Linked DNA regions of Homo sapiens: regions 1, 2, 3 and 4 are each linked to region 5. The links are contacts of gene promoters, found by promoter capture Hi-C in blood cells and fetal thymus (Javierre and others, 2016). All regions are on one chromosome and are shown on one strand. Each heading gives the region's core, a stretch centred on a gene start or on the middle of the fragment in contact. The rest is flanking DNA. Distances are from core to core; before and after follow the strand shown. Region 1 overlaps IQCB1 (IQ motif containing B1). Region 2 overlaps SEC22A (SEC22 homolog A, vesicle trafficking protein). Region 3 overlaps GOLGB1 (golgin B1). Region 4 overlaps GOLGB1 (golgin B1). Region 5 holds the start of KPNA1 (karyopherin subunit alpha 1).

What was found. Contacts are between HindIII fragments. The CHiCAGO score rates a contact against its expected background, and 5 or more counts as called.
Region 1: a contact is called between a fragment that was not itself captured here and the fragment with the promoter of KPNA1 in region 5, in 1 of 17 cell types (monocytes). The highest score is 5.2, in monocytes.
Region 2: a fragment that was not itself captured here is called in contact with the fragment with the promoter of KPNA1 in region 5 in 4 of 17 cell types (naive CD4 T cells, fetal thymus, total CD8 T cells and 1 more); the score reaches 7.5 in naive CD4 T cells.
Region 3: a contact is called between a fragment that was not itself captured here and the fragment with the promoter of KPNA1 in region 5, in 1 of 17 cell types (total CD8 T cells). The highest score is 6.3, in total CD8 T cells.
Region 4: a contact is called between a fragment that was not itself captured here and the fragment with the promoter of KPNA1 in region 5, in 5 of 17 cell types (naive CD4 T cells, naive CD8 T cells, total CD4 T cells and 2 more). The highest score is 8.9, in naive CD4 T cells.

What each region holds. Positions count from the first base shown.
Region 1 is chr3:121,826,317-121,831,999 of GRCh38, reverse strand. It overlaps IQCB1 (IQ motif containing B1), which reads left to right. Exons shown (of 15, transcript NM_001023570.4): 3 at 3,028-3,139; 4 at 3,368-3,530. The coding sequence starts at 3,040. Among named protein-coding and RNA genes, the nearest start is that of IQCB1, 5.9 kb to the left of the region's middle. The HindIII fragment of the contact is 3,950 bases long and covers 1-3,734 here.
Region 2 is chr3:123,202,098-123,207,774 of GRCh38, reverse strand. The region is part of intron 1 of SEC22A (SEC22 homolog A, vesicle trafficking protein); the gene reads right to left. Among named protein-coding and RNA genes, the nearest start is that of SEC22A, 3.0 kb to the right of the region's middle. The HindIII fragment of the contact is 3,731 bases long and covers 481-4,211 here.
Region 3 is chr3:121,734,516-121,739,925 of GRCh38, reverse strand. All of the region lies in intron 1 of GOLGB1 (golgin B1), which reads left to right. Among named protein-coding and RNA genes, the nearest start is that of GOLGB1, 13 kb to the left of the region's middle. The HindIII fragment of the contact is 8,358 bases long and covers 1-5,410 here.
Region 4 is chr3:121,716,696-121,722,719 of GRCh38, reverse strand. GOLGB1 (golgin B1) reads left to right here. Exons shown (of 22, transcript NM_001366282.2): 6 at 342-458; 7 at 2,952-3,074; 8 at 4,219-4,332; 9 at 5,581-5,983. Among named protein-coding and RNA genes, the nearest start is that of GOLGB1, 30 kb to the left of the region's middle. The HindIII fragment of the contact is 852 bases long and covers 3,393-4,244 here.
Region 5 is chr3:122,511,751-122,517,081 of GRCh38, reverse strand. KPNA1 (karyopherin subunit alpha 1) reads left to right here and starts at 2,143. Exons shown (of 14, transcript NM_002264.4): 1 at 2,143-2,325. It overlaps LOC107984000 (a long non-coding RNA gene), which reads right to left and starts at 2,053. Exons shown (of 2, transcript XR_924403.3): 1 at 1,954-2,053; 2 at 1-57. RefSeq lists a silencer at 2,176-2,865. The HindIII fragment of the contact is 3,104 bases long and covers 1,754-4,857 here.

The DNA of each region.
Region 1 (5,683 bases), core at 510-3,009, 680 kb after region 5:
GCATACAGCTTGAGTGACCTCCAGTAGAGGTGATGTTTAAATATATTTTGCTGCATTCTTAAAAGGAAATGTAGCATAATGCAGCCATTTGGAGAGAATGAGATAACTATATGCACTCTCTTTGAAAGTTTTGTGACTACTATGTGCCGGGAGTTGCACTGGGCTTTCTTTAAGGTATTTTCAGCAAACCTGTCTTTTAATGATTTATATTGTACCTAATAAGAGATATATGAATGGAAAAACAGTTTTTGCTCTCACATCATGACAATCAACACAAAAGACTTCTGTGACCAAATGTGTGGAGTTTTCTTCCACCAACAAGCAAGCAATCAATTCTGCAGCGGACACCAGCTGGGTATCATCTAATTCAATTCTGACACTGTCTACTTGGAGATAGGGTCAGATCCCTTAGGTTTAGGGCTTAGTCCTGCAAGAGGGACCCCCATTTCTGATGCCAATCCAAGCCCTAAGTTGTTTTACCTGTGCTTCTGACTGACCAGCTACACATGAGGAATCCTATTAATACACACCTTGGGGTGTATTAATTTGCTAGAGGAGCTAACAAAACTGAGGGAAACATGTTTTCCAGTTTATTATAAAGATATTACAGAGACCCTGGGCAACATGGAGAAACCCTGTCTCTACTAAAAATACAAAAAATTAGCCGAGCGTCATGGCTTGCAAGTGTAGTCCCAGCTACTTGGGAGGCTGAGGTGGGAGAATCACCTGAACCTGAGAAGTCTAGGCTGCAGTGAGCCATAATTGTACCATTGTCCTCCAGCCTGGGCAACAGGAGTGAGATCCTGTCTCCAAAAAAAAATACTAGGATACAAATGAAGAGATGCATACTGTGAAGTATGGGAAGGGGCACAGAGCTTCCATGTCCTCCCTGCCTGTGATATCCAGGAAATTCCTCCAGGAACTTCCACATGTTCAGCTATCCAGTAGCTCTTTGTACCCCATCCTCTTGAGCCTTTTATGGAGATTTCAATGGATAGGCATGACTGAAGCATGGACAATCATTTTGGAAATGTGATTGGACAAAAAAGATATGATCTGATACTAACAGACTGAGTGGGGAAACCCAGCAAGGCCTGTCTGCTCAGATTCTTCTTGGCTTCTCTGTTCAGCATTCCTTCCAGGATATAGGGCAAGACCCATTCTGAAACAGGGGTCTTATGACCTACAGCTAGACAAGATAGGTCAGAGAAAGGCAGGGATGATTAGAGTTCTGCTTTGGAGAGAAGGAGCAGGTGAAAGGAGGAGAGGAGGAAGTCAGAAATAGATTCTGTTTTCTGAGGCCTAAAGCACCCTAACATAACAAGACTGTAACAAAGGCTATGGGAGTTATGAGCCAGAAACTGTGGACAAAAACATATATATGTATATGTATATATGTATGTATGGAAATGATCACACGCTCTATCTACTTCATAGCCCTGTTGTGAGGATTACACAAGACAGTGTATAGTATATTAACATAGTGCTTAGCTTATATTAAACAGTTGATACATGTTAGCTTTACTATAAATAAGGAAATACGCTTTTATTATATAAGGATATCTTTGAGCTTCAAATGCTTTAAAACTTTTTTTTTTTAGAGACAGGGTCTTGCTTTGTTGACCAGGCTAGTCTTGAACACCAATTCTCAAGCGATTCTTCAGCCTTAAACTTTTTTTACATAGAGAAAGTTTTAGCAACAAATTAGGATGTGGACCTTGTTTTTTAATGTTAGGAGAATTGATTTTATTCAATATACTATTTACTTATTTATTAATTATTATTATTATTATTTTGAGACAGAGTCTAGCTCTGTCACTCAGGCTGGAGTGCAGTGATGTGATCTCAGGTCACTCAACCTCCACCTCCTAGGTTCAAGCTATTCTGCCTCAGCCTCCTGAGTAACTGGGATTACAGGCACGCGCCACCATGCCCAGCTGATTTTTTGTATTCTTAGTAGAAATGGGGTTTCACCATGTTGGCCAGGCTGGTCTTGAACTCCTGACCGCAAGTGATTCACCCACCTTGGCCTCCCAAAGTGCTGGGATTATAGGTGTGAGCCACTGCCCCTGGCCTTATTCACTATACTATTTAGAAGCAATCTTTGATTATCTTATATTTATGTAACATTTCTGAGCATTAGTGTGTTGAAGGTCAGTGCTTCACTAGGAGGGCTCACAGGACTCAGAATATAGTGTACTTACAGCTATGATTTATTACAGTGAAGGGAAATAAAGCAAAATCAGCAAAGGGAAAAAGCATATTGGGGGAAATCAGGTACAAACTTCTGAGTTCTCTCCCAGTGGAGTTACGTAGGATATGCTTAATTCCTCCAGCAACCAGCTATGACAACATGTTTGAAGTGTTGTCTACCAAGGAAGCTCAACTAGACACTCAGTGATCAGAATTTTTATTGGAGGATGGCCACATAGGCACCCTCTGTATAGGTACTCTCGACTGGCATGTACCAGAATTCTAAGACTCCTGGAAGGAAGGCGGGTATTCAGCATGAACCACATTGTTTTTCATAAACAGTTTTAGGCACAGGGAGCCACTCTTACCAGAGAATGGCAGAAACCCTCCTGAAATCTAAGTTCTAGATGCCAGTCAAAGGCCAACCTTGTAAGCACACCTTTGAAAGTATAGTAGTCTTAGGCCTGTCATGTTAGCTCTTTTTTGCAGTTCTTCTTGTGTGATTAAAGGAAGTTAATTCCTATCCTAGAATTATTGTGCAGATTAGAGAGAGAATGTGAAGCTCCTATCACAGTTCCTGACTCTTAGTGAGTGCACAATAAACAATACCTGCTATAGCTGTTACATGTGAGGTATAGGAATCTTGAGCTCTTTTACACTGGTTAGAAAAACCAGTTTTCTATAAGGAAGAAATGAAAAAATCTACATTCTGCCTCTCAAACAAGGCAAGAAAAGCTGTTTTTATTTATATTGAAATTATATTTCAAACATTATTTAGGTAGTGAACATTTCCTGGCTTTTTGACCTTTATTCTCTGATTCTGTTAAAATATAGGTAATAAGAGAAATGAAGCCAACAGGTACAGACCCAAGGATCTTATCTATAGCTGCTGAAGTTGCAAAAAGCCCTGAGCAGAATGTCCCTGTTATACTGTTGAAGTTAAAAGGTAAGAAAATCTTTTTGTGATTAGATAGCATTTTAAGTGAAAAATGGTTCCATCGTTGGTACAATTTTAACATTTCTTTTAAATTTGTTCAGAGAGGTCTTAACACTATAATAGAACAGTAATTTTTCCTTCTAATATATTTTTAGTGATTATTCAACATATAAAAATACAAATAGCTCCTGGATGTATTAAGCAAAAATAAATATATCTTATTTCCTTTTGCCTTAGAAATAATAAACATCACACCTTTAGGAAGCTCAGAGTTGAAGAAAATCAAACAAGATATATATTGTTATGATCTCATTCAATATTGCCTCTTGGTCCTCAGTCAAGATTATTCTCGAATCCAGGGTGGTTGGACTACAATTTCCCAGCTTACACAGATATTAAGGTAAAATAAAGCAGTAAGTCAGCTGTTCTTGAGGGATGTAGTAGTTGATTCTGATTTTCAACATTTGCTTTTTATTTATCTGCCTAACAAGCATTGGCAACCTCCTGTTGTAGGTTTTGGTTGTACTTTTCCTTCATATTATATGTTATTATTCATAATTTTACTTCAGATTATTTGACTGTCTAAAATTTTCCTCCACAAGCTTAATGAAGATGGTGATCATTTTTTTTCTCACCACTGAATTCCAAGTGCCTAATATACTTTTTATTGATTAAGGAATTTTTAAAGAAGTGAAGAAATTAAGGCACTGGCTCTGTACCTGAGAAACTTAAAATAGAGATTGGGTGACAGTCATGTAAGTATATGATACAAAGCAGAATGAAATCAGTGCTAAAATGAAAGTATGCAAGCAAGTACTATAGGAGAACTGATAAAGAAACATTTTATTTCACTATATCAATGTAGCTATCAACTGTGTATTTCATTAAGCAACCCAAATACTGTCAATAAAATTTAGAAGTAGAATTTACTGATCTACTGCCATGCTAGAAATTAATAGAAGAGAAATAAACATTTTTTAAAGGAGGTAGTAAAATAAACCAGATGTTCTTAGTGCCTAAGCTACTTCCTGATTAATAAGTGAAAGTGTGTATTTACTAACTGGATCCTAGCCTTCTTTTTTTGTTTTTCCTAAATAAGCCATTTGAATTTAATAAGCTATTCCCACTGAAAGGGTTTGTCTTGGATGCTAGATTTCTAAGCTGCTTAATCCTACTGTGTTACTTGGTAAAGGCCAAATTTAAAGCACACAGTTACAAAGAACAGTTGAAAAATATATGTGATATTCTTTTTCATACTTTAATTTTCAAGATTGATTTTCTTAAGTAAATAAAGCCTTATGTTTTTGTTTTGATTCGATATGCTAGTTTATGATGATATTGATTAAGCCAGGCTCTCGGGTGGAATTCAAGACTTAAGAAATTCCCATGTTTCTGAATGCACAAATAAACATAATTTCATTTGTTAATCTTCTCAATCAAAAAAGATACTCTTAAGTAATTAACTTTAGGAACCAAAGAGAAAAGAAAAGCTGATACATGTGAGCATTAGCCCATTAACTTTAGGAACCCAGGTGCAAATAAACAACAACAACAACAAAAAGTGATACATGTAAATATTATCCACTTAGGTTTTTTTTTAACTTTTATTTTAGGTTCAGGGGTACATGTGGAGGTTTGTTTTATAGGTAAATTGCATACTCAATGTTTGTTCTCACTTATAAGTGAGAATATGCAGTGTTTGGCTTTCTGTTCTTGTGTTAGTTCACTTAGGTTAATGGCCTTCAGCTCCATCCATGTTGCTGCAAAGGACATGATCTTGTTCTTTTTTATGGCTGCATAGTATTCCATGGTGTATATGTACCACCCCAAAGAAATATACCATTTTCTTTATCCAGTCTGCCATTGATTACTTAGATTTTTAACATGCTCAATACATAGTTGTTATTGCTTATTAGTGTCCATACATTTTGTTGAAAAGACTCAAACAGCAGTTTTTGTTCATTAGAGTACACACATAGAGACCATTCTTGGGTTTGAGGCTCTTTTGAATGTTAGTTTACAGAAAAACCTTTTATTATTGGGACTTCTGACTTATGTACAGGAAATGACTTTTATGTACAATTTTAAGAGGACCTTTTTCTCTAAGTGACTTTCTCTCCTCTAATGTATATTGTAAAGTGTTCCTACTAGAGTTAGGTTTTGCCGTTTGTCCTTCTGATATAAGGAATATGCAAATGAGTATTTTGCAAAAAGTAGATCTATTGGAAGGTAAAATTGGTATGAAATTAGTGTTTGGTTTCCTTATGTATCCCTTGCAAACAAATCCTACTTGGGCATTTTTCAGCTATTAGGTGTCTAAAATGTATTAGTTAACACAAATGCTTTTCATAAATTAAACTCTCAAGGTATCCTATAGCTTTGAGAATGATTATAGCCAATTCACTGAAAACTTAGCTTCTCTTTATTGTGAGCCAAGTGTCTTTTATTTGCTGAATGAGCTGATATGTAGGTTTTTAGGATACATAAATCCCAGACCTAAGTACAAGCATGGTCCATACCACTGTTTACTTTTCTAGAAAGTTGTTAGACTAA
Region 2 (5,677 bases), core at 1,097-3,596, 690 kb before region 5:
GAACTCAGGTCAACAGTCACTCAACCTTTCATAAAATACACAGTGGCTCTCAAACTTTAGCTTGCATAAGAAGTTGAAAGTTTAGTTAAAAATGCAGATTTCTGAGCTCTGCCCTCAAAATTCTGAACCACTGACTGTGGGATAGGGCTTGACAATTTGCTTATTGTCTAAGGCCCATACTTTTTAAAACATTAAATTAAAACATGTTCACTATCTAAGATTAAGTGATAACTCTTCTCTGTCAGGCCATCAAAGCACAATGTCACTAAAGGCTTCCTCACTAGTGGTGAGGCAACTGGTGAAAATTCAAAAATCTGATAAAAATCTCACAGGCATTTTTCCAAAAATATTGTATCTTAGAGACTAAATTAATCCTTACCTGCCCACTTAATCTAGGTCAATATTATCTCATTCCAAAAAGGAAAAAATGAGTAATATATATAAAAAAAAATACCACAGAAAACCAGTTGTTACAAAGCTTGTAAATCAGGAGCTGATAGTTTTCACTGCTGTGTGAAGTCAAAATATGACTTCCCATTCATGGTGATAACTGATCTGACAATAAAAATTAACCCAACTAATAAATCTAATGCATTAAGTTCACTATCCCTTTTTCCTCTTTTCATGAGGAAAAAGGAGAAATCTCTAGGTGTTACTGTGTCATTACCCTTTAATATTTTTCTCCTTCAGAGACAGGGTCTCACTGTGTCACCCAGACGAGTGTAGTGGTGCGATCTCAGTTCACTGCAACCTCCACCTCCCAGATTCAAGCAATTCTCATGCCTCAGCCTCGCGAGTAGCTAGGATTACAGGCATGCGCCACAACACCCAGCTCATTTTTGTATTTTCAGTAGAGATGAGGTTTCGCCATGTTGGCCAGGCTGGTCTCAAACTCCTGGCCTGAAGTGATCTGTCCACCTCAGCCTCCCAAAGTACTAGGATTACAGGCATGAGCTACCACGCCCAGCCTCTCCATTCATTTAAAGAGAAAAATATCCAGAAGCAAATTAGTCTTTTTACTACAGTGGAGTCTTCAAACTGAAGTCCCAGTGTGACATATCCCAATTGGTGTTTTTTTCCATTCATCTAGTTTTTTTCTCTCCTAAAAGCAGTAGCATGAAAAAGTTGGGATCCCTGAAGAGATATCTATACTATAAACCCCTCTTTAATTTTTTTTTTACCATGTTTTACTTAATTATTAAATCACAATTGTAACATTTAGCCTAAGTGTAAGAAAGTAGGAAAATGTCTTACTCTATCCCCTTAAGCGTTTATTATTTAACTATAAAACTGTTGTCTTTCCAGAAGTACACTGCAACACAATAACCATTCTGGGAATTAATTTGAGGGTGAGTTGTAACTTGCAGTTCTAAATACCCACATTTTAGTATTTAAAAGCAGATTGGATGGGGTGCCATGGCTTATACCCATAATCCCAACACTGCTTGAGGCCAGGAGTTCAAGACCAACCTAGAAACATGGTGAGGCTCTGTCTCTATAAAAAAAATTAAAAATCAGCTGGGCATGGTGGCACACGCCTATAGTACTTGCTTTGGGGAGGCTGAAGCAGGCCCAGGAGTTCAAGGCAATGGTGAGCTATGATTGTGCCACTGCAGTCCAACCTGGGTGATGAGAGAGATCCTGTCTCAAAAAGTAAAATAAAAGTAGACTGTATTATTTTATGTCTGGCCTCTCTAGGATCCTAATAGAAATATTATGAATAGACTTCATTAATAGGTTGCCAAATTTCATGTAGTCTTCAAAGTTATTCTTTAGTGACTTGGAGGACAGATCAATAAATATATGATCCATGCTTTCTAAAACACATACTGTAAAAAGAATACAATTTGTAAGTTCCATTCGTTTACCAAACATTTACTGAATATCTAATGTGTCCCATGAATTATGCCAGATAGCAGGAATGAAGAGTCCTACCATCAAGAAACATCACTCCTCAATTAGAGAAACTCAGTTGAAAAGAGCAAACAATGCAGGTGTGTTGCCCACCACTTCACTAACTGGAAAACTAAAGTTGGACAAACTTACATTTCAAATACTCCTTTTTTTGTTGTTTTTTTGTTTTGTTTTGTTTTGTTTTGAAACAGGGTCTCACTCTGTTGCCCAGGCTGGAGTGCAATGGCTCACTGCAACCTCTGCCTCCCAGGTTCAAGCGATTCCCCTGCCTCATCCTGCCAAGTAGCTGGGATTACAGGTGCCCGCCACCATGCCTGGCTAATTTTTGTATTTTTAGTAGAGATGGGGCTTAACTGTGTTGGCCAGGCTGGTCTCAAATTCTGACCTCAAGTGATCCACCTGCGTCGGCCTCACAAAGTGCTGGGATTACAGGTGTGAGCCACTGCGCCCAGCCTCAAATTTTCCTAATATGTACTTTAGCCTTTAACCAAAAGCAGAACACAGTAGTTACATTCCCTGTCAAAATTATTACAAGGTTGTCAGAGAATGGTTTCTACTTATCCATAGATAAGATTTTTCTTAGGGAAAAAATTAAACCTCTTTCTACCACAGTAATTTGATTCAGCATCCAAAGCACTTGAATTTAAGCCTGACAAACGGGGATGAATGTCCAATGATCAACGTCAGGCTTAACTAATTTGTAGACAGATTCCAACCACCTTAGGCTAAGCTGTCTCTCCATCAATTCAATAAACATACCCCTACTTTTTTTCTTTTTACCACGGATTCATAATATAGTTTGTTTTTTTTTAAACTAATCTTATCTGGACTGTGCTAGCAGAAAAGGAAATCTGTCCATGTCAGGCCTAAGCTAGGTTAAAGTATCTTTAAGGTCTTAAGGAGGGTTGTGGTTGGGAAAATCCCAAGGAAGAACCAGTGGAACTGTGGAAAGCAAGAGATTACAACAATTGCATGGGAAGATTTAGGAGTTTTTAGCTTATCGGGGCCATAGATAAATGTTTAGGGCACTGGGCCATTTCTCCTCACCTTTAATACAGAGAAAATATTACACCTGCCTTTGTACAGCAGCAGTTAACTCACAGGGAACCTGAATAGTGGCTATTTTTTCCTCTCCCCATCAGCAACTGTTGGAGGAAAAAGCACAAGCTAGAATCTAGGTAAATCTGGGTAAACTTTTATGTAAAGGCTGAGGAAAATAAATTCCCACAATGCCAAACTACTATAGTAGTGGTTAGCAAGTTCCTGGACCCAAGATAATAAGACACCCCTCTTCTTCAGAACCTTGTAGGGGTAATGACTACAGGCTCAATGTCTCAGGAAGTTATCTCTCAAAAGGTAATAAACAAAGCCCAACATGTAAGTGGATTTTGTATATACGTTCTAACCAAATGCTTTCACAAATGCCACTTTTAAGATAAAAACATTTTATACTGGGGGCAAAAGCACTCATATTTATTTTAGTTCATAACTTCCCAGTCTTCAGTCATCCAAGTACCACTTTCAGAATTATCTTCATCCACCTGTACTATTTACCTAATATTGGTCTTTGAATTGACTTACTTTTCTTGTCCTTTATTTTTTAGCAATAATATCTGTGAAATCAGTTTTGAGATGTTAAGTTTTTCTCCTAATTTAAATTAAATGAACTTGTTTCATTCAAATATGTATGTGTGTGAAAATTTGGGGAGAATTTTTTAATGTTCATTTGCTTATCAAATTATCTTGCATATGTGACAGTACCAAAGTTTGGGAAACAATACCAATATGGTACATATTATTTTATTAAAAGTGCTCGCTGAGGGTGGGGGATAGAGTGGGTGATAAAGGGGATGGAATTTCCGCCATTTTGCCTATGCCTTCTACCTCACTAGCAGTGTTCGACATTCCTATTATGGGTGCTTGCACTGCACAGTATGTATAAGACCTCAGGCTTCACAACAGATTTTACCCACATCTAGGACAGGGCCCCCAATACATGCTCAAATGTGTCAATCCCAACATTTTTATAGTGCCACATAGTTCACGGTTGGGTAGGTAAAACCACCATTTTACAGATGAGGAAACTAAGGCTCACTTTCTCAATGTCACACTGCTAGTATATAGCAGAACTGGTACTTCGGTCTAAGTTTCTAGTATCTCTACATCACTATGCTTCATCAGTCTCCCAAAACCAACAAGACACAAGAAACCAGGGATATAGAAACTATCTATTCACTTGCTGCCTGGGTTCTAATCCTGGCTCCACCATCTACCAGCCATGTAAATTTGGACAAGCTTTGCCTTTCTATATCTCAATTTCCACATCTATATATTGTGGCTACTAATAGCATCTATCTCATAGGCTTGTTTTAAAGATGACAATAGTATCTATCTCATAGGATCATGTAAAGTGCCTGAAACATTGCCTTGTAACATGCTAAAAGCACTACATTAAATATTTGCTGTATTATTTATTGATTACTCTCCATGGACCACGCACTTTATACACATTACCTCATTTAAGCGTTCCAAAAACCTGTGAGATAGGTATTATTAGTTCCATTTTACCTTTGAGGAAATTCAAGCCCAGAAAGCTTGAGGAATTTTTTTTAATCCCTAAACGAGTAGGTGACAAAGTAGGGATTTAAACTCAGGCCCAATTCTAACAACTCTGTGAGACACTCAAGGAAGGTCACAGGCACCCCTGTGATAAGACCTAGGCCTCTTTCATATACCAACATAAGATATACTTCGATTTTAACCAGTTGCACGCAAAAAAAAAAAAAAAAAAAAAAAAAAAAAAAAAAGGCACTAAACAGATGTGATGGTTTTCAACATAGGAAATACCCGAATGTCCCATTACTTTAGGATATGGTCACAGGTGTCAGAGTCAAATACTGAATGAACCTTAATATATCAGAAATTGTAGGTACCGTTTAAGGCATTGCCTGATTCCTTACAATCTTAGCATGTAAGCAAATATCAGTAACATGGAAAGTGATTCAGAGTTTGAAAAGTGGCTGTTCCCCTGACTGAAGATCCCAACATCTCCAGTCTGGTGGCTGATACTTTTGCTCTGGGCTAGGCTTTGCCTTGGCTGAATAGGCATAGGAGGGACTGGTTCTCAAGCTCGCCCCCTGCCCCAGGTGGATGATCCAGGAAACTAAGCAGCAGGGAAAAATTATCTTAAGCTGTCTTCACTGGCAGAGAGATTCAAGCCAGCTGGGGCTTGTCCTTTTCTTTTGGAAGCCTCCTCCACTTGCCGAGCCAATTGCTCAGGTCTCCCTTCTGCCACATCGTTCCCAAAGTGACTCTTGAGACAGGGTCTCAAGAGATTTCCGTGAGCCAACGCGGGCAAATATCTGGGCTCAGGGCTCACTCCATCCCCACAAAACGTAAAGTAAGACACTGGTTCAAGTCCCATTCTGCCTAAAAGAAATAGGAAATGCCACCTCAAGCTCTCATGGGCCACCTACACAGGTAGATCACCGTGTTTCTGACACCTGGGCGCCAGGGAATCCCCACCACCATGCTGACAGCCAAGTGCGACTGTCCCTCCCCTTCAAACACTCCTTTCCTGGCTGCCCAACACCCGAGGCGGCTCAGACGAGGCGCAACCGCCGCCCGCCTGGCCCCAGAGAACCCTCAAGTCGAAGGGGACGGGGTCCCCGCTTGCCCGTCCCTCCAGAGCTCCGCGGCCCCGACTCCCATCCCAAAGGCACGGACTTGGCTCCTGCCCGTGGGGTAGGTCTTCAATCCCGAG
Region 3 (5,410 bases), core at 902-3,401, 780 kb after region 5:
TGGAGATCCATCTAAGTTGTTGGGTCCATCAGTAGTTCGTTGCTTTTTATTTCTGAGAAGTATGTGATGGGATGTATGTACCAGTTTGTTTAACCATTTGCCTGTATATATCAGTTTGCTTAACCGTCTATTAATAGAAATAAAGCTGCTATGAATGTTTATATACAGCAGGTTCTCTTGTGAACTTAAGTTTTCTTTTCTCTAAGATAAATGCTGGGGAGTGGAATTGAGGGTCATAAGGTAGTTGCATATCTAGTTTTTTAGGTCATTTCTTTTTGATTTTTAAAATTATCCTTCATTTCAACTTTGCTTTTTTTTAATGACATGGTTTGTTATATTTACTCATTTTCTTGTTCCTTCTAGTTTCATCTTCATTTCCAAAATGATTTTTTAAATTTTTCAGTCACTTCTTGTTTTCACTTTATTTCTGGGTTTTTCTATTTCTGATGTTTATTTTTTCACATCTTATGTCATTTTTAATGCCTTTTAGTTCCTTCAGTAGATTTAAGTGGTTATAGTTTTGAACTGTTTTTTTGAGCATGGCTCTCTGACGTGCTTCCATTTTCTGTCGGGATGTTATCATGATCGTTTTCCTCCTTTTTTTTCTTCTAGTAATGTATCTGAATTGTGAGACTTTTCAGTTGCTCTTTTTTTCTTTTTTGTGACAGGGTCTTACTCTATCACCCAGGCTGGAGTGTAGGGGTGTGATTATGGCTCACTGCAGCCTCCACCTCTTGGGCTCAAGCAGTCTTCCCACGTCAGCCACCTGAATAGCTGGACCTACATGCATGTGCCACCATGCCTGGCTGACTTTTTAAAAAAATTTTGTAGAGATGGGATCTTGCTATGTTGCTCAGGCTAGTCTTGAACTCCTAGGCTCAAGTGATCCTCCCACCTCAGCCTCCCAAAGTGCTAGGATTACAGGATGAGCTAGCACGCCTGGCCTCAGTAGTTCATTTTTAATATGAATTTAGTGTTGCTGAACTTTTAGAAAGAGATTTTATACAGCTTTTCTAACTTGATAAGGTTTCCTCTTGTGCTATTTTCAGACATTGTTCAACTATATGGCAGCTGGATTTCTCGGATTTCCTGCCTTTCTTTCCTTGCCACTTTCACCTGCTCTTTATCTGGACCTCCTCTTTCCTTAGTCACTTAATTTTAATTCTCCTCTCAGCAGATTCTCCTCAGTGTGGGACCCTATCCTGGAAGAGAGCCCCAACTCTTCAGTTCTGAGAATTAATAAAGGTCCAGACTGCCTCAGCTCTTTCAGCCCTCGTAGGCCCCTGGCAGGTACCTGTTATTGGAATGGGAAGACCCCTCCTTGTATCAACTACTGTTCTGTAATTGGCTTGGCGCATTTGCCAGTGAATGCCCACTGGCTCTTTTGAGGTCCTCTTGGTGTTGTACTCCTCTGGCTTCCCTCAATTTCCTCCCAGTTGAACACCAGTGACACCCAGATCTTTTGACTATTGGCGGTTTGTCTATATCCACGTTTATTTTGGGGTTTGTAGGAAACTTTGTTAAGTAGTTTTTTGGTAAAGGCTGTCCATGGATCTTTTGTTACCTAGTTGCTTTGTCTGTTTTTATGTGGGAATAAAGGAAGATACAAAATCCATGGGGCCCCTTGCTACTCCCATCTTCTCAGAATCCCATCAGTTGGTTATTTTGTTTTCTTTGTTCCAAAGTGGTCTGAAAAATCTGAAGATAAAGTGATTCTGTTTGATAAGTTAGGTTCCATTATGATTTTCTTTGATTAGCAGAAATCTATATGTTTAAGAAACTCTTTAGTGATGGTATTCATTTCCTTCATTAAAAGTTAACCAAAGAAAATATGATCTCTAAAGTTGAAAAGAAAGTTTAGAATCTGTATACTGCTGAATTGTGATTTTTTAATCCTGACTATAGCTGTGGTTCTCATATCTTGAATAAATAGTTATATATGGCCCTATGTACTCATGTATGACACTGTGTTGCCCTTCCAGTATTTAGATATGAAGTTATATATGATCCTGCGCTGCCTTCCTAGGGAACAGTTCACTTTTTCTATTTCTGTCTCACGTATCTTTTCCAAGTGATGTGCTACTTAGATTACCCAAGACAATCTATTAAAAAAACAGGTATCTCTCATCACTTCTTTCTTAAGAACCATGGCTGCCCTAAACACTATTATTATCCCCAGTAGAAGAAAACTGTAGCAGAGCCTAGTTTCATTTAAGTGTTTATTTTGTACAATAGTTTTTATATTTCTTCTTGCTGAGGTTTTTTTTTTTTTTTGAGACGCGGTCTTGCTCTGTTGCCCAGGCTGGAGTGCAGTGGTGCGAATCTTGGCTCACTGCAACCTCCACCTCTCAGGTTCAAGTGATTCGTCTGCCTCAGCCTCCTGAGTAGCTGGGATTACAGGCACGTGCCACCACACCCGGCTAATTTTTGTATTTTTAGTAGAGACGGGATTTCACCATGTTGGTCAGACTGGTCTCAAACTCCTGACCTCGTGATCCACCCGCCTCAGCCTCCCAAAGTGCTGGGATTACAGGCATGAGCCACCACGCCCGGCCCCTGCTGAGGGTTTTAAAAGCCAAATAACATTTTATCACAAAATGTAAAATTAGGCATAATCACGTAAACTAATGCTATGCATAGTCCAGTTCTATTTTGATTTTTCCTATCAAAGCATTAATATGCTTCTCATTTTCATGGACTTTATGGACTAGCAGTTGACACTGATCTGAATATGTAGCCTACACAGTGGTTATAAAAGTAAATTGATTTTGGAATAACCTTAGATTTACATACAACTTGGGAAGATTAGACAGACAGTTATTGTATACACAAAGCATCCTCTAATGTTAGCATTTTACACAACCATGGTAGCTTTTTCAAAACAGAGAACATAGGTGCAATGCCATAAACTAAACTATAGGTAGACTTCATTCAGATTTCACCATTTTTTCCAGTAATGTCCTTATTGTGTTTCAGAACCTAATCCAGGATACTGCCTTGCGTTTATTTATTTATTTATTTAGAGGCAGGGTCTCACTCTGGCACCCAGGCTGGAGTGCAGTGGTGCGATCTCAGCTCACTGCAACCTCTGTCTCCCAGGTTCAAGTGATTCTCCCATCTCAGACTACCCAATAGCTGGGACTACAGGTGCATGCCACCACACCCGGCTAATTTTTGTATTTTTTAGTAGAGACGGAGTTTCACCATGTTGGCCAGGCTGGTCTCGAACTACTGACCTCAAGTGATCTGCCTGCCTCGGCCTCCCAAAGTGCCAGGATTACAGGCGTGAGACACTGTGCCCGGCCTACTTTGCATTTAATCAGCATGTCTCCTTGTCTTCTCTAATCTGTGACTGTTTCTTAGTTTTTTGTTGTTTTTCATTACTTTGACAGTTTTGAAGAGTATTGGTCAGGTATTTTTAGAATGTCCCTGAATCTAGGTTTTCCCAGTGTTTTCTCATGATTAGACTGGGCTTACGGGTTTTGCAGAAGAATACCCCAGAGGTAAAGTACCCTTCTCATCACATTATATCAGGGGTTACATGATATTACGATGACTTATCACTGGTGATGTTAATCTTGATCACTTGGTTGAGGTGGTGGTTGCCAAGTCTCACCACTCTGATGTTGCTGTTTTTCTTTTTTCATATTCTATTCTTTGGAAGTGAGTCACTAGGTCCAGCCTATACTGAAGGAGAGGGAATTAAGCTCCATTTTTAGAGGGGGACGTATCTACATAAATTATTTGGAATTCTTTTGTAAGGAAGATTTGTCTCTACCATTAATTTATTTAATGATTTATTTATATCAGTATTGACTGATGGGTATTTAATTTTTTATTTGGGTTATAATCCATATAATCCAATATTATTGTTATTTATTCTGTGACTCAAATTATTCTAGCCTTGATCATTGGGAGCTCCTTCAGATTGGCTCCTGGTCACATACCCCATTTTTTTTCTTTTTCTTTTTTGAACACTTCCTTACTTTCTGGCTCTCTGCCCCAACCCTAGATAGGCAGCCATTTCTCCAAGGAGCCCTAGTTCCTTTTATTGGAGATTGGCAATTTAGAAATCGAGATCTGGATGCGCTCATTGCTACTGAGGTGTTACTGTTTCTAGGACTTTTCAGTGGACACGGCTAGAATATATATTTCTCTGTAATAACTGATTATTTATAATGCATACATATCTATACTTATTTCTGCATTTATCTATTTACATATATATTAAAATAAACATGAGTTCATACTGATATCTCTGACTCTAATCCAGTACCATGGGGTTTATCCTAGCTTTCTTGCCTTATTTGTAACTTCTTTCACTGACAGTAAAAAACCTGAATCTCATTATCTACAATTTACTTACTCATTTAACCCTAGTGTACAATGAAGTAGTTTCAGAATTGCTAACCCATACCACTGTGAGAAAGAAATTTACCAAGCAGAGTACAGTGTTTATGTCAGTTCTTTTTGTCTTTATCCTTATAGTACCCAGTCAAAACACCATTTTTGTTTCTTAGGTTAGCCCCATCTCCTTCAGTGAGGTTATATCATATATTTATAATATAGTTAGATCTATTTGTCACAGTCTGCATTCCATTTTTGGAACTCCTGACATCCTGGCTGAGGTTTTAAAAAAATTGTATACAATTATGTTTGCTCTTTGGAATGTACAGTTCAGTGAGTTTTGACAAATGCATATGGTTATGAATTTACTACTTCAAGATCATACAGAACAGTTCCTTCACCTTAAAAATTCCCTTGTGTTGCTCTTTTATATTCAGCCACATCTCCTTCCCTCAAGCCCTGACAACTATATTTGTGTGGGTTAATTTCTGGACTTGTTCAAAATGTTATATAAATAGAATAATATGATGTATATCTTTTAATGTTTAGCTTATTCCATGTAGCAAAAGGCATTTTAGGTTTAAGTATTGTGTTGTGTGAATCAATTGTTCATTCTTTTGCTGAGTAGTATTCCATTGTTTGGATGTGCTACAGTTTGTTATTCATTCACTTGTTGAGGGATATCTTGGCTATTTTCAGAATCTGTGATTATGAGTAAACCTACTATAAACTTGGTTAGATGCCTAGGAGTGGGATTGGTAAATGTACGTTTAACTTTTAAAGAAACTGTCAAACAGTTTTCCGAAGTAGCTGTGCCATTTTGTATTCTAATCTGCAGGCATTGAAAGTTCCTGTTGCTCTATATCCCTGCCAGCATTAAAAAATACATATTTTAGCAATTCTAATAGGTAGATAGTGGTATTTCATTTTGCTTTTAATGAGTATTTTCCTAATGCCAGATTAACTTAAGCATCTTTTCATATATTTATTTACCATCCATCTATCTTCTTTGGTGAAGTATCTATTCACATCTCTTGCACATTTCTTTATCAGGTGTGTTACT
Region 4 (6,024 bases), core at 2,569-5,068, 800 kb after region 5:
TGGGTTTTGGTGGTTTGTCCTTATTAGCTTATATTTTAGGGTTTTTAGGACGGTCTGCCTAATTTAACTGTAAATGTTATCTGTGGTTTTTTTGGTTTTACTATCTTGTGCTGTCTCTATGTGAGGAGTCAGAGAAATTGAAAAATTGCCACTACTGCTTCTGTCTTCTTCTGACAAATAAAATTTTGATAATGCATGCAATTTCCTTTTGGGTTCAATGGAAACTAGAAGGAAATATGGTAGGCATTTAGGTTAAGCAAGAAAGGGAGGTCAAAGAATTAATAATGCTCATTCTTTTGCTTAAATAATTTTTTTTCCTTCTATGTCTTCGGTTTGATAAGAGTTCTACAGAGATGGAAGAATTTGTAATGATGAAGCAACAGCTCCAGGAGAAGGAAGAATTCATTAGCACTTTACAAGCCCAGCTCAGCCAGACACAGGCAGAGCAAGCTGCACAGGTAGGGACCTCACAAAATTAGGATAAAGAGCTATGAAGTCCAGTGGGTTATTACGCACAAGTCAATTCAGTGAGTCACTTTAAAAAATCCTAGTAGATAAAAGTATAGTAGCATGGGTGTTGCACTAGAAATTAGAAGGATATGTAGTAGAAGAGATTAGGAGATGTGTGGTAGGTAAGTGTGTCATTAGGGAACACCAGAAAACCTCACAATGTGTTATTTACCTTGATGAATTTTCTATAGCCTAATTGATGACTGTTTCTTAGTTCTGCATGTCCAGAAACTTAATTTTAATAGCAGACAGAGATTCAGTCTTTTGGGAATGGACTCATGCTGAGTTCAAAAGAGACCAATAAGTAAACCAAAAGAAATAAAAATAATTAGGTTCATTCTTTCCCAAAATAATATCTATCTTAATAGGAAATAAATTATAGTTAGATTACTTAGTGAGCCTGTAATGAGAAAGTGGTGTAGGTCATGTGATTTTATGTTAAATGGCACCAGTATGTGACATTCTTCTTCCCATTTTTTTCATCTGTCAAGACCAGACCATTTGGATTGGCATCCTCAACTTTTTCTATTTTTCTAGGTTTCTTGGTTGGCCACGCACTCCCACATATTTATTTTTGAAATTGGGTCTCACTCTGTTGCCCAAGCTGGAGTACAAGTGGTACAATCATAGCTCACTGCAGCCTCAGTCTCCTGGGCTCAAGCCATCCTCTCACTCACCTCAGCTTCCCAAGTAGCTGGGACTACAGGCATGTGCCACTGCATCTGGCTAAATTTTTTACATTTTTTGAAGAGACAGGTTCTCAATATGTTGCCCAGGCAGGCCTTGCACTCCTGAGTTCAAGTGATCCTCACACCTCGGCCTCCCAAAGTGCTGGGATTACAGGCACTGTAATTTTTTTTGGGGGGTGGGGGCAGCGGTGGGGGAATGCTTATGAATCATGAAAGATTTTTTTCCCTGAAGTACCTTTGTACATAGCTAATTATCCATTAGGTGTTTACTTTATTAATAATTTGTAGTATTAGTAGTGCCTTCTCTCTGTGGTTGGCCTACTGCTATGTATACAGTTAAAATTGTATATCCTGAAATTCTTGGTTTTACCTATTAGCTTTTATTGTGTCCTTTTTAAATTTTTTATTTATTTTTTATTGTGTCCTTTTTATGTATAAGCACTATATACAGTGCAGGATGAAGAAATACAAAATATGGTTTTTAACCTATGTGTTGCTAAAATATGGAAAGCCAAGATACATACATGTGTTAAGAGATTCATCGTAATTTAAGGCTTTCCGAATAAGTGCCAAAGCAAGCAGCAATACAAACAAAATATTTTGGAAGGCGAAAGAGGTTACTGTGAGTTTGACAGTTAAGGAAAATTACACGGAAAAGTTGGGATTTAGGCAAAACCATGATATATAGATAATATTCCAGACAAGCTGGGGGAGATATTTCAGTGATGGGGAACGGTGTGAGCAAAACTGCAGAGAAGGAAAAGAATATGGAACAGTTATGGGAAAGGAGTTAGAGATGTTTGGCTAATGAAAGACTCCAGTGCCTACACACTTGAAACACAAGAGTCCAAATTCCTAGTGAGGTCACAATTCAGATAATAAAAACATTCTGAGGATTTGTTTTTCTCCTACCAAAAAAGAAAGCCAAAGTTTGATTCAAGGTGTCACAAACTGAGATATCAGCAGTAAAGGACCAATGCAAAATAGGCAAGCTAACAGCTAAGCAGCATGCTCCACCATAGATCTTAAGGAGATGAATAAGCAGATGCACACACTCACAACCTAAAAACAAGACAGAAGCACTGATACTGAGCAGCTCACCATCAGTCCATTTATTTCCATTTCATTCTGTTCAGAGCCAGTTAAAAATGAGCATGATCTAGAAGGCTGCAAGTAATGACAGCTGAAAACAGCTGTCTGGGGAGGTGGTGTGGATTTAGAAGCACATGAGGTTCTTTGGTAGAAGCAATTCTTTGAAAATAAGACTAGAAAGATAGATTGGTATTTCCAGTTGTAGAGAATCTTGAATAAATGATATGTTAGTTTGAATTTTCATTTATAGGGCATGAGAATTTTACTGAAAGCTTTTCAGCCATGAGCAAGAAGTGTCCAGGGTTTAATAGAAATCTAACTTAACTTCACCTTATGTGTTTAATATCTTAATCTTTTTAGAACTTTAAAAAATACACTTCTTGTATATTTAAAACATTTCTAGTAACCATGAACATATAATTTTTGATCAAAATTTATGTTTAGGCTAACTTCTGAATTTGAAAATAGGCTTTCTCTCGCATTTCATAGTTACTGTCCAGCCTATCTCTCTTCCAACATCCTCATCCTTGACAATCAAAATTTCACTTTAAAAAGCTACTATCAAGTCTCAGTGTCTGTCTTGGAAAGTAGTCTGTGAGTTTTATTTGTGCAATATTCGGGGAGTGTAACTTGCATAGTTTCTCTGGTATGTGTCTTCAGTTGAGTTCCATGCAGCAGGTGGTCCGAGAGAAAGATGCCCGCTTTGAAACACAAGTTCGTCTTCATGAAGATGAGCTTCTTCAGTTAGTAACCCAGGCAGATGTGGAAACAGAGATGCAACAGGTGTGTTGCTAAAACTCGGTAGAATGACTGTCATTTTGGTTAATATTTAATCCATCACAGCCAATTTCCTACCCTTACCCACTGCTCTTCACTTGGTGTTAGTGTTTTCCTTATTGGCCTCTTTTGTGTCCTTGTCTTCTGTTGCATAAAAATTATTTATTTTTTCTTATCCTTTTCTTGCCTTTTACCCCTCTAATCAGGTTGTTGGTGCTCAAAAGCTGAGTTTAGTTGGTGAATTTATGTGGTAGTCAAAAATTGGTTTCTCTTCAGTTTTCTGATTATAGCTACCTTTGTGCATTACACACCTAACCCAAAGCTTCAAATCAATGAAGTCAGTTTTAAATATTTAAAAAATTAGAGAAGACAAAGAATGATTTTGAAGACATGAAGTCTTTTATTAGATCAGTAATTCTTTTTTAAAAAAATTTGAGTAGATTTTGAAAATTGGCTTCATTGTATTTGAGTTCACCATCTACTAACTCAAAGTATTTTATTTCACTTAGTGTGTAGTGCATTGTGGTACTGAAAGGCACTTCAGTGATACTTTATGTTTGATCTGTTTAATTAGATTGAAAATTAATTAGAATTAATTAGAACGGAAACTTTTAAGTTCTAAGCAATCTTTCAGAATGCACCACTAAATAAAGTTTTAGAATACAACATATTATTAAGTAGAATACTAATTGTATATGTGTATCATTGCTTTATTTATTCAACAATTTTTTTTCAAGTGCCTGCCCAGTGCATGAAACTAGGAGAAGAGAAATGATTCTTGCCTGCAGAGAATGTTCTCTTGGGTGGGTAAGATGTACATGTACCTATGCTATCTAGGTACAGGTTATTAACTGTATGATTTTGAAGGCAGATATGTGTTATTGTTTTTTCTAATTTTTAAAGAGACTCCCTAATTCAGGGACTTGCTTGTGTCTGGGTCTGGTTGTTGTTGGTGCTCTGGAGAAGACATTTTGGAGACTCTTCGTTGCTGCTGGATGGGGGGAGCATGGCATGCTGGTCTCCCACTCTTTAAACTGTCATTTTCAACACCCCAAAATTTAAGTATACAAATCTACATGACATTTTGAAAGATAAGCAAATACAAGCACTCATTTGTTAGCATATTATGTCTAAAATGTTTTCTTCTCAGAAATTGAGGGTGCTGCAAAGGAAGCTTGAGGAACACGAAGAATCCTTGGTGGGCCGTGCTCAGGTCGTTGACTTGCTGCAACAGGAGCTGACTGCTGCTGAGCAGAGAAACCAGGTACTGCCTTTTAATCTTTACTTCCTGCCTTGGAGGGTATTCATTTCCACTTTCGTTTGCCAGGCAGTAGATATAAAAGCCTATTTAAAGTCTTCAGAGAATTGATGCCATTTATTCATTCTTTCAACAAATACCTCGTACTTAAGTGGTGGGGATGCAGTACAATTATGAGCAAAACTAAATACAGTTCTTTCCCTCATGGAGCATACATTGCACTTCTTTATTGTTGCTCTTTCCCTTTGCCATTTTAGATCTAGGGTCCTAGTTTATCTAGAATGTCATACAGATTGAGTATGCCTAATCTGAAAATCCAAAATGCTGCAAAATCTGAAATTTTCTGAGCACCAACATGACACCACAAGTGGAAAATGCCACAACTGACCTTGTGGAACAGGGTAACAGATCAAAGGCAAATATGCACAAAATCATTTAAAATACTGTATAAAATTATCTTTAGGCTATGTGTATACGATGTATATGAAACAAATGAATTTCATGTTTAGACTTGCGTCCTATCCCAAGATATCCAAGATATTCCACCATCTGAAAAAAATGGAAAACTAAAATACTTCTGGTCCCAAGCATTTAGAATAAGGGATACTTGACCTGTATTATCCTTTAGTGAGTTTCTTTTTCATCAGTTACTCTTCTCTGTCTTGAATGGTTTTTGTGCTTTATGTACAGCCCATCTTTTCTTGTTTTTGTAAATTGACCTTCTGTTAGATTGAAATGATCTCGTTCTGCAATATTCTCTTGAGTATGAAGGTAATCAGTAATGCTGATCTGACTATAATCCATCCTGCCATTTTCTTTCTCATATTGTCCTGATCTTCATTCTCATTGAATTCCATTGAATTCCACTTTGCTTCTCTAGTATGTTAATTCTTCCTTACCCTTGCTCCTTTCTGTGTCCTATATGGACCCATGCTTGACAGTTTGAACTACCTTTTTTCTACCCCTTGGATTCCTTGTGTTCCTATCCTGTCACATCCAAGTAGTCTCATCATAATGCAGAATTGGTGCTATAGTCCACATTCTCTGTTTGTTTTTCTGGGTGCCTGTGTGCTGCTGGGGAGTCAGCCATCTCCTCTCTTCTTAATTTTCAACTCTCCTTCTTGAGAAGGGCTTTCTCTCTAGCATAGAAACATGTTCCCATTTTTTTCCATCCTATAAGAAAAAGCACTTTACAATGCTTGTTGAAATGAAATAATGTATTTATGGCTCATGAGACTTTGTCTTTTTTCTTAGATTCTCTCTCAGCAGTTACAGCAGATGGAAGCTGAGCATAATACTTTGAGGAACACTGTGGAAACAGAAAGAGAGGAGTCCAAGATTCTACTGGAAAAGATGGAACTTGAAGTGGCAGAGAGAAAATTATCCTTCCATAATCTGCAGGAAGAAATGCATCATCTTTTAGAACAGTTTGAGCAAGCAGGCCAAGCCCAGGCTGAACTAGAGTCTCGGTATAGTGCTTTGGAGCAGAAGCACAAAGCAGAAATGGAAGAGAAGACCTCTCATATTTTGAGTCTTCAAAAGACTGGACAAGAGCTGCAGTCTGCCTGTGATGCTCTAAAGGATCAAAATTCAAAGCTTCTCCAAGATAAGAATGAGCAAGCAGTTCAGTCAGCCCAGACCATTCAGCAACTGGAAGGTCAGTAGCTGATTGCTTTTGAAGTCCACATCTCTACCATC
Region 5 (5,331 bases), core at 894-3,393:
GGCAGTTCGCAACATGACAGCTTGCTTCTTCAAGGCCAGCGAATCTCTAGCTCCAGTCTGGAAAGACAGTCTTATATAATGAAACGGAATCATGGGAGTGACATTCTATCACCTTTGCCATATTCTGTTGGCTAGAAGTAAGTCAAAGGTCCCACCTACACTCAAGGGGTGGAGATTATATAGGCAACACCAGGGACCAGAGATTATGGGGGCCATCTTAGATTTCTGCCTGATACATATAGTAAGGTTAAAGATGCAATGTCCTAGGATCTAGCAGTTTCCCTATACACAGTAGAGATGTACAAGAATGTTCACAGCAGCATTGTTTGTGACAGTAAAAAATACTGTTCTATACTTTCAAATTTCTCAAACTATAAAATGATATTGTCAGAGAGACAGTAGCTTATAAAACACCATGTATGGTATGATAACATTTTTGTAAAAGTAACATACATAGGAATTCAACTTCCAGCAATGGCCTACTGTTGTTTTCAATCAACCTTTCCACTACAGAGAACAACTGAACAAAATATAAAAACGTTAATGTACTGAAGAGCTACCAAGGAAGTGAGAATTTGTGAGTGCAAGGTCTGGAAGAAAAAGGAAGCCACCAGAGGTTAGCCTGATATTTGCCATCATTTTTCCAAAGCTAAGGTGATTGCTGACTCTGAAAGCAGTGGCTGAAACAGGGAGAAGAGCTTATGGCTGTCTCATGGGGCTTAGAAGGCCCACCAAAGAGAAGAGGCCCTAGTAAATACCCCAGACTTTTGGATGGGACCATCAAGGACTAGCTAGGAATAAGGGTGAACCGGAAATAAATTAGCTTTCCCAAAGACTGAAGACCGGCTCTGAATAATCAGTCTTAGTTCCTTATTGGAATAAGGTGATCTGTCTTCAGTCTAGCTGTGGTCAGGCAAACTTGCCCTTAAGTCTCTCCTGTTGAACACACCTTCCCTTTCCCCAGCCCCCTTGCTCAAACTCAACTCTGATCTTAGTAAACACAACATCAGCGGGAGAATGCTGATGCAGCAGAGAGAAGTCCAGGACAAATGAACATTGCATAACCTAGGATTCAGGTAGAGTGGTCCTCTCTCCTCTCCTCTTCCCTGGGACATTTATAAATGTATTAATCTACCTCATCTCTTTCACCTTGCTTCTTGGCATGTGTTTTAAATCTGTCTACTATTCCGTGATCCCTGCTAGGCTGGCTTCAGTTTTTCTTCTTTTGAAGCCACTACTCCATTTGCTCCCCCAAAGAATTCCATGAAATTTAACATTAGCAATCATTTGCTCCAAGTTTTCGTTTGAGAGCAGTTGAGAGTAAAACGAGTATGTGTTTCATGTAGTTTCATTATTATTATTATTATTATTGTTATTATTATTTTTGAGGCAGGGTCTCACTCCGGTTGCCCAGGCTGGAGTGTAGTGGCGCGATCTCGGCTCACTGCAGTCTCACCGTCAACCCCGGGCTCAGGTGATTCTCCCACCTCAGCCTCCCGAGTAGCTGGGACTTCAGGCGCCCGTCACCACCCCCTGCTAATTTTTGTGTTTTTAGTAGAGACGGGGTTTCGCCATGTTGCCCAGGCTAGTCTCAAAACTCCTAGCCTCAAGTGATCCACCCACCTCGGCCTCCCAAGGTGCTGGGATTACAGGTGTGAGCCACCGCGCCCGGCCCTTAATTATTTTTGATACTACGCATACGTTATCAAGCAAAGGGGATGGGAGATAACTAAAAAAGGAATGTCCAGAAGCTTCCTGCATTCATGCTGCATGTGAGCCCTTTAGACACGAGGCGCTGACCTACTAATTTTGTAATACTCCCTCAGCCTTCAATCATTCCATCATTCATTCCATCAACGCGTATTAGGTACTTAGAAGCTATACAGAGGTGAGCATCGATCCGCCCTGGAAGAGCTTAGCAAAGACAGGTTTGTACATATAACTTTCTCCAACCTTTGCCATGGTCTGCAAACCTCCTTCTTAGCGAGACCCCCTCCCCGACCCCCGACTCTTCACAGGCTGGGCGCTAACCATTAGGAATGTCCGGCGAGAGAGCGTTACAAGACTACGTCTCCCGGCAGCCTCTGCGACAAGCGCCGGAGGGGCGCGCGTAGGCGCTCGGGCCGGCCCCCGCACGCAGGCGCACTGCGAACGCCGGCTGAGCTGAGTCTCGCTGCTCGGTGCGAGGCGGCGGAGAGCGAGGCCTGGTGAGCACCGCCGAGGCGCGGGCCAGCTCTTCGAGGTTGTGCGCGGGAGTGGCACGGCGGGCGGGCGAGCGAGGGGCTAACTTCAGCGGTGGCACCGGGATCGGTTGCCTTGAGCCTGGTGAGTGCTGGGGCCTTGCGGCCCCGGCCCCTCCCCCTCCCGCCGGCAGATCCGGGCAGTCCCGGAGGGACTCAGGAGAGGCCCTGGGGCGAGGGCGGGTGCCGGCAGGGCCTAGAGCCGGGGTTCCTGGGCCGGACGCTCGCGCCGCGTCCGTGCGTCACGGGCCCGGCTGTCCTAACGGCCACAAGGCCGGCGGAGGAGAGGGTGGGGGTGGGGAGCCCTGGTGTGATCGCCATCGGGAACGCCGGTCGAGGCTAGGCGGGGCGGGGCGGCGTGGCGCGGCGGCGGGGCTGTAAGCGGCGCCGGGGACTGCGGGGCGCCGAGGCAGCGGGCGGAGAGGAGGCGAGCGCGGAGCCTGCGCCGCGGCCGGGCGGCGGGCGGGAGGCGGGGGTGGGCCGCGCAGAGCGCTGTGACAGAGGCAGGAAGGAGCAGGGGTGGCGTGTAAAAATTCTAACCCTGGCAAAAAGGGACCGTCTTGGGAATTCACAAGTTACAGACCGGGTCGGAGCCGGCGGCCCGGAGGGAGGTGGGGGAAGCGGGGGGTGGAGACGGCCGGCTGCAGTTTACCGATGTCATAACAACATGGGCCTGGAGCGGCTGATCGGGGGTGTGGTAATTATAGCAATGACAGAACTTGGTCTGCACGCCGCGTGTGCGATGCGAGGGAAGCAGCGAGGTATCGGATTAAGCTCAAAACGGGAGGAGGAAACAAGGATGACTGGAGTCAAGGAAGTCGTCATGAAGTAATGTTTTAGGATTGGGTCGTGTTCCACTTTTAAATGAAAGCGTTCAAAATATTTGATTTTTAAGGTTTCAACTCAGAACAAACGATTGCCGAGTTTTTGTTTGTATTTTAAAGAGATGGGGTCTCGCTATATTGCCCAGGCTGTACTCCAACTCCTGAGCTCAAACTGTCCTCTTGCCTCAGCTTCCCAAGTAGCTGGGACTAGTCTTGGGCAACCACACCCAGCTCTGCAGAGTATTTTTTTTTCTGAAACGTACTGTCAAGTAATATTAACTTGAATTTCACCCTTTTTTCTTAAATAAACGGTTGCTTAAAAATCTCTATTAGTAGATGAAGTGATTTCCCCCCTCCTGTTTTGTTTTTTTTTTTCTTAAGAGATGGAGTCTTGCTTTGTTTCCCGGGCTGATCTGGAACTCCTGGCCTCAAGGCATCCTCCCTACTAGCTGGAACTACAGGCGGATGCCACCAGCAAGGCTCATTCTCGACATTGTTTTTGTCTTAACTAGCTTTTGCATTTGTAATATTTTGAAAGCAGTACACAAGTTATTTTTCCCTCCTTTTTAAAGATCAAAGAGATGAAAATTTAATTTTTCAAAGGAAAGTAAGAATGAGTTCTGTTGTATTTTTACTGAAATATTCTTGGAAGACACTGTTTTATGGATAGATGAGACGTAAGAGAAAGTAAAGGAATTAACATTTATTGAGTTCTTTTTTCAGGTATTGTGTTAAATGCTTTACATATATTAAAAACATTTGAATCTGAAGTATCTGTTAATTTTTCTATTTTACAGATGAAAGCATTGACAATCAAATGTTAAGTAACTTACCTAAGGTCTTCCAGTTCTTGTTGAGAACAACCTTAGAACCCAAAGTTACTGCCATTTAAATTATTTCTCTCCTTTCATACTTTTTCGTTGTTTTCTTTATTTAATCCGTTCAATCAGCGAATACTTACAGAGTGATCTTCTAGACTTGGGGGGATATAGTCGCGATCAAAACTCACTGTCCCTGTTCTCATGGAATTTATAGTGTAGCAGGGAAAGCTAATATTACAAATATTGACTGCATAACATTTTGTCAGTTATTATAGTTGAGTAGCAACTGTAAAGCACTCTACTAAATAGTAAAGGCAGTTCAAATGGAAGCAGACAACATAAGCCTTGAGGAGTTTACAGTCCTGTAGGGCAACAAAACATACATTTATGAAAACCTAGAATAAACTAAATTAGAAAGGTATCACCTGAAATCACTATACTTGCATTATGGTATTTTTTATTTTATTTATTTATTTTTTTGGATGCTTGCTCTGTTGCCCAGGCTGGGCAGTGACGCGATCTCGGCTTACTGCAGCCTCTGCCTCCCTGGTTCAAGCAGTTCTCCTGCCTGAGACTGCCTGAGTAGCTGGGACTACAGGGGCATGAGGCCACACTCGGCTAATTTTTTGTATTTTAGTAGAGACGGGTGGTTTCACCGTCTTGCCCAGGCTGGTCTCGAACTCCTGAGCTCACGCAATCCGCCCTCCTCGGCCTCCCGAAGTTCTAGGATTACAGGCATGAGCCACCGCGCCCAGCCGCATTATGTTACTTTATAAAGTGGTTCTCGTAGAAGTTTCTTCACAGAACTATGATTTAATATACATCTTATCTAGAGCTGATACTTACCAAAGGGGCCATTAAAAACATCTTTTCTTCATTAATATCTAATGAAGAAATTTCTAATTTATGTATTGGTTCCTATAAAATACAGACCTTAGAGACAAATTCTTCCTAAGACCCCAGTATTAAGCTTTTTTTTTTTAAACTAATGATTGGTTTTATTAGATTATTTTTGTTTTGTAAGCCATCCTGTTTCTCTATACTTTGACTGTCAGGAGTCTCAGAGCTGTGTTCAATTTTTATAATTTTCTTTAGTCTCAACTATGTTAAGAATTATTTTATACGTAACCTGGAATTGCTGTCAGTTGTTTCTTGCATTATTTTCTTTATTCTCTGTTGCTCTCAATGGTCCTTTTACCTTTTCCCTTTTCCCTTTACATTTGAGAATAGGATTATATCTTATTCTTTGCATCTTCAGTGTTTTAGCACAGTGTTTGTTGAATTAATGATAAAATAGAGTTTTAATGATTTATGATGTCTGTGCTTTTAAGTCTACCAGATTGTTTTTAGATGTATGAGTACTGTGTATAAAATCAGTTAAGACCTTTGATTGGTCTTGCAAGTAAAGATGACTGACCTAGTGATAAAGATAACTCCTTGTTTTGT